Linked DNA regions of Homo sapiens: region 1 is linked to region 2. Evidence: promoter capture Hi-C in 16 types of primary human blood cells and fetal thymus (Javierre and others, 2016). All regions are on one chromosome and are shown on one strand. Each heading gives the region's core, a stretch centred on a gene start or on the middle of the fragment in contact. The rest is flanking DNA. Distances are from core to core; before and after follow the strand shown.

Region 1 (2,976 bases), core at 258-2,757, 2.8 Mb after region 2:
ATGTTATGTGATACTTTGGTCCCTGACATTTATTTGTTTATTTATTTATGAGATAGGGTCTCACTCCATCACCCAGGCTAGAGTGCAGTGGCGCAATCTCGGTTCACAGTAGCCTCTACCTCCTGGGCTCAAGCAATCTTCCCACCTCAGCCTCCCAAGTAGCTGAGACCACAGGTGTGCACCACCATACCCAGCTAATATTTTTTTGTATATTTTGGGTAGAGACAGGGTTTCGCTATGTTGCCCAGGCTGGTATCGAATTCCTGGGCTCAAGCCATCCCCCACCTCGGCCTCCCAAAGTGCTGGGATTACAGGTATGAGCCACTGTGCCCAGCCAGTACCTGACTTTATGTCTACTAGGTCCTAGATAACTAAGAGCAAGTAGAATTTTTAAGGAACTAAATTTACGGCTTTGAAAAAATTATATTATTTTCTTGTAATATGATTTATGTGGTGGTAGTTAACCTGGAAAGTAAAGAATGATGGTACTAATGTTTAATTTCCAATAATGAGACTATGCAGTTATGTAATTTGTTGAAAGGTTAGGGAACTAAGAAACTCAGAGATTTAAGGATAAGTATTGGCTGAGCATGGTGACTGACTACTGTAATCCCAGCACTTCAAAGGTCAAGGCAGGTGGATTTCCTGAGCCCAGAAGTTCAAGACTAGCCTGGGCAACATGGGGAAACCCTGTCTCTACGAAAAATACAAAAATTAGGCAGGTATGGTGGCATGCACCTGTACTCCAGCTACTTAGGAGGCTGAAATCAAAGAAACATCAGAGCCTGGAAGATTGAGACTGCAGTGCTGTGATTGCACCACTGCTTTCCAGCCTGGGAAACTGCGTGAGGCCCTGTCTTAAAACAAAGGCGTGGTGTGGTGGTTCACGCCTGTAATCCTAGCACTTTGGGAGGCCGAGGCGGGTGGATTGCCTGAGCTCAGGAGTTTGAGACCAGCCTGGGCAACATGGTGAAACCCCATCTGTACTTAAAAAAAAATATGAAAAATTAGCTGGGCGTGGCAGCATGCGCCCATTGCCCCAGCTACTCGGGAGGCTGAGGGAGGAGAATTGCTTGAACTCGGGAGGCGGAGGTTGCAGTGAGCCAAGATTGTGCCACTGCACTCCAGCCTGGGCGACAGCGAGACTCTGACTCAAGAAAAAAAGAAAAGAAACAAAACAAAACAGTATGTATTAGAGGCAAGGTAGGTAAACATTTCCTGAGAACTTGGTGCATTCTTTTTGTTTGAAATTGACCGTAAGTATTTGGCACAGTATGGCTCTAGAGAAAGGTTTCTCAGCTTTGGAACTTTGAGACTTTGGGCCAGATAATTATCGTGGGGGCTCTGTTGTATATTGTAGGATATTTAGCAACATTCCTACCTCTACCCATTAGATACCCATAACACATCCTCTGCAGGTTGTAACGATCAGGAATGTCTGAAGAAATTGTCAGAATTGCCCTTGATTGAGACTACTACTTTAGTGAAAATATTTCACATGTATTTATTTATTTATTTATTTTTTGAGACAGAGTTTCGCTCTTGTTGCCCCGGCTGGAGTGCAATGATGTGATCTTGGCTCACCGCAACCTCCGCCTCGTGGGTTCAAGCAATTCTCTTGCCTCAGCCTCCCGAGTAGCTGGATTACAGGTGCGTGCCACCACACCCAGCTAATTTTGTATTTTTAGTAGAGACAGGCTTTCACCATGTTGGCCAGGCTGATCTGGAACTCGTGACCTCAAGCAATCCACCCGCTTTGGCCTCCCAAAGTGCTGGGATTACAGGCGTGAGCCACCATGCCCAGCCATAATTACCACATTGAGGAATTTGTACTTAATTCAGTGTAATGGGAAATACTTGCAGTTTTTTTTAGTAAGGAAAGAAAAATTCTTAAAAATATAGTGGTAGCTGGCCGGGTGTGGTGGCTCACACCTGTAATCCAGCACTTTGGGAGGCTGAAGCGGGTGGATCACAAGGTTAGGAGTTTGAGACCATCCTGGCTAATATGGTGAAACCCTGAATCTACTAAAAATAGAAAAATTAGTTGGGCACAGTGACACGCACCTGTAGTCCCAGCTACTGGGAGGCTGAGGCAGAGAATCGCTTGAACCCAGGAGGCAGAGGTTGCAGTGAGCGCAGATTGCACCACTGTGCTTCATCCTGGGTGACAGAGCAAGACTCCATATCATAAAAAGAAGACCTCTAAATGTACCAGTCTTTGCATTCTGACATATATTATGTTGTTTTGTTTGAAGTATGTGAAGAAAATCTAGCCTCATACAGATACATAGTTGGAAAAGAGAGGAGTATTTTAATGGCCTTTTCAGATAATTCTAACTGCTCTTTGACACTACAGTCAAACCTTTTTATTTGTTTGTTTTTTTGAGACGGAGTCGTGCTCTGTCGCCCAAGTCGGAGTGCAGTGGCGCTATCTCAGCGTACTCCAACCTCCGCCTCCCAGGTTCAAGCAATTCTCCTGCCTCAGCCTCCTGAGTTGCTGGGACTACAGGTGCACATCACCACGCTGGGCTAATTTTTTGTATTTTTAGTAGAGACGGGGTTTCGCCATGTTGGGTTTGAACTCCTGGCCTCAAGTGATCCGCCTGCCTTGGCCTCCCAAAGTGCTGGGATTTCAGACGTGAGCCACCGTGCCCGGCCTCAAACCTTTTTAAAGGTTCATTACAGTATGGAATCTGAAACTGTGTCATTGAACTTTTGTATTCTGTTGTATTAAAAACCATTGGTCTGTGTTGTACTTTGAATAGACCTTTACACTTCTGTGATTTTATAACATGATGCATGTTGATTTTGAAATTATTGATTTACTGAGTTATGCAGATCTTCTTTTTTTGTTGTTTTTTTGTTTGTTTGTTTCTTTGTTTTTGAGACAGAGTCTTGCTTTGTCACCCAGGCTGGAGTGTTGTGGCACAATCTTGGCTCACTGTAACCTCTGCATTCCGGGTTCAGGTGATTCTC
Region 2 (2,700 bases), core at 35-2,534:
CAAATCCCATCAGGCCACTTGGATGAAAACCCTTCAAGGATTACTGGATAGAATTCAGGCTTTCCCCTCCAGCCCCCAATCATAGCTCACAAACCTTCCTTGCTATTTGTTCTTAAGTAAAAAATCATTTTTCCTCCTCCCTCCCCAAACCCCAAGGAACTCTCACTCTTGCTCAAGCTGTTCCGTCCCCTTACCACCCCTGATACAACTGCCAGGTTAATTTCCAGAATTCTTGCAAGACTCAGTTCAGAAGTCACCTTCTTTCGTGAATGTTTTGATTCCCTGAGGCTACTTTATTTTGGTATGGCTGAAAAATCCTAGATTTTCTAAACAAAACCTGTTTGAATCTTGGTTCTGATATGGACTAGGAGAGAGACTGGGTCAAGTAAGCTTATCTCCCTGAGGCTGTTTCCTCGTCTGTTAAGTGTGAATATCAATACCTGCCTTTCATAATCACCAGGGAATAAAGTGGAATAATGTTGATAACAGTGCTTGGCACCTGGAAGTAGGTGGCAGATGTTAACGCCCTTCCTCCCTTGCACTGCGCCCCCTGTGCCTACCTCTAGCATTGTAACGACCACGTAGTATTGAAATGGCCAGTTTACTTGTCTGCCTTCCTTTCCAAGACCGTTGGTGCCTAGAGGACTAGAATCGTGTCCTATTTAACTTTGTGTTCCCAGGTCCTAGCTCAGGAGTTGGCAAATAAGAATTAAATGTCTGCTACACCGAAAACCTCACGCCTCTCATTCGTTGTGATTTTTGCATATGTTGTTGACTCAGGCTGAAACTCCTCCTCCTCCTACAGCAGCACTGTGTGCCGCCCCACTGCTGCCCCCACCTCTCGGGGCAGCTGGCGGAGAAGAGAGGGGGCTTTCCAAATCCACTATGAATCCTTAAAAGGCTGAATAAGGGAACTTGAAACGATGCAGACAGGCAGGCAACCCGTAGTCGAGGGACATAGGGCCATAAACGTCGAAGCCAGGTCTTGAGCGTCAGACAGAATGAGGTGTCCCAGAGCGGCGGAGGAGAGCCAGACGCACGCTGGTTCCGGTCTGGACGGAATCGCCGCGGAGCACGGCAGAGGCTAGGGCGGAATGGCTACGGCAGCGCAGTTCGCCAAGGCTCGGTCTCCGCCCTGCAGCCTATTTCCTCTAACCCGCAGATCCACTATGGGAGGAGGCGGGGAGCGGGCTGGAGAGCACTAACAGAGACAGGCGGGGCGAGTCGTGGGCGCGTGACGTCACCCCGGGGTGTGCGCGGCGCGAGCGGAAGCGGAAGCGGCTCTGTTCGCCGCCTCTCCCACCGGCCCGATGAGCTGCAGCGGCTCCGGCGCGGACCCCGAGGCGGCGCCGGCCTCCGCCGCCTCGGCCCCGGGCCCCGCGCCCCCGGTCTCGGCTCCCGCCGCGCTGCCCTCCAGCACCGCCGCGGAGAACAAGGCCAGCCCCGCGGGGACAGCGGGGGGACCTGGGGCTGGAGCAGCTGCTGGGGGCACGGGACCCTTGGCGGCGCGGGCCGGGGAGCCAGCTGAGCGGCGTGGGGCGGGTGAGGGCCGGGACGGGTGAGGGCGAGGGAAGCGTCTTGGGCTGGGTCCAGCGGCGGGTGAGGGCAGAGGGTATAGACAGACCTAGCTGGGGCCCTGCGCCTCCCACCTCTGTGTCTCATTTTGCTGGTTCTCCTCCAGCTCCGGTGTCGGCGGGTGGCGCGGCGCCCCCGGAGGGGGCCATATCTAACGGGGTTTACGTACTGCCGAGCGCGGCCAACGGAGACGTGAAGCCCGTGGTGTCCAGCACGCCTTTGGTGGACTTCTTGATGCAGCTGGAAGATTACACGCCTACGGTGGGCTTCCGCCCGAACAAGGCCACCTAGCCTGCTGTCAAAACTTTCAGCCACATCGTGCTTTTCAGCGTTCTCTTCCATTTGCTCCCCTAGTCGCTCTTCTGTGTTTGCCCTCTGCTCACCCAAACTGTGAGCTTCCTGATAATCAGGCCTATCCATTTCCCTCACCCTCCTCCCGCTCTGCTGACAGTTCTCTTAATTGATTTCTCAGATCCCAGATGCAGTGACTGGTTACTACCTGAACCGTGCTGGCTTTGAGGCCTCAGACCCACGCATGTGAGTAAACCCAGGGCAGGTTAGTTTTGGGTGCTTGTGCAGTATGTTGTCCATCTCCTTCTCATCTAAGTTTTTTCTCTCTAGAATTCGGCTCATCTCCTTAGCTGCCCAGAAATTCATCTCAGATATTGCCAATGATGCCCTACAGCACTGCAAAATGAAGGGCACGGCCTCCGGCAGCTCCCGGAGCAAGAGCAAGGTGTGAGGGGAGGCTTAATGAATCAGTAATTACCTTCCACAACAGTGGAGGCTTATCCTGCCACCCCTTTGGGGAAACTGAATCGTAGGGGAGGTGTAAGACTTACTCAGGGTCACCCATCTGGGATTGAAGTCCGGGATTCCTGTGCTCAGTTGGTGCTCTTCCCTCTTCCCTCAGGACCGCAAGTACACTCTAACCATGGAGGACTTGACCCCTGCCCTCAGCGAGTATGGCATCAATGTGAAGAAGCCGCACTACTTCACCTGAGCCACCCAACCTAAATGTACTTATCTGTCCCCATGTCCCCACACCAGCCTGTTTTCATAATAAACTTTATTGTGACAGGCGGGGCTGATCCCTCCCATGTTGGGAGACACCATGTGGCAAGT

The links. The method cuts DNA at HindIII sites, captures the fragments that hold promoters and counts their contacts. A CHiCAGO score of 5 or more calls a contact.
Region 1: a fragment that was not itself captured here is called in contact with the fragment with the promoter of TAF10 in region 2 in 1 of 17 cell types (neutrophils); the score reaches 5.9 in neutrophils.

What each region holds. Positions count from the first base shown.
Region 1 is chr11:3,792,519-3,795,494 of GRCh38, reverse strand. The region is part of intron 1 of NUP98 (nucleoporin 98 and 96 precursor); the gene reads left to right. Among named protein-coding and RNA genes, the nearest start is that of NUP98, 3.5 kb to the left of the region's middle. The HindIII fragment of the contact is 3,504 bases long and covers 1-2,976 here.
Region 2 is chr11:6,610,800-6,613,499 of GRCh38, reverse strand. It overlaps TAF10 (TATA-box binding protein associated factor 10), which reads left to right and starts at 1,284. Exons shown (of 5, transcript NM_006284.4): 1 at 1,284-1,542; 2 at 1,682-1,836; 3 at 2,048-2,112; 4 at 2,197-2,311; 5 at 2,489-2,700. The coding sequence starts at 1,311. The coding sequence ends at 2,578. TPP1 (tripeptidyl peptidase 1) reads left to right here. Exons shown (of 13, transcript NM_000391.4): 13 at 1-732. ILK (integrin linked kinase) reads right to left here. Exons shown (of 13, transcript NM_004517.4): 13 at 2,630-2,700. RefSeq lists enhancers at 808-857, 908-1,037, 1,493-2,080, 2,081-2,669 and silencers at 1,328-1,427, 1,438-1,637. The HindIII fragment of the contact is 6,165 bases long and covers 393-2,700 here.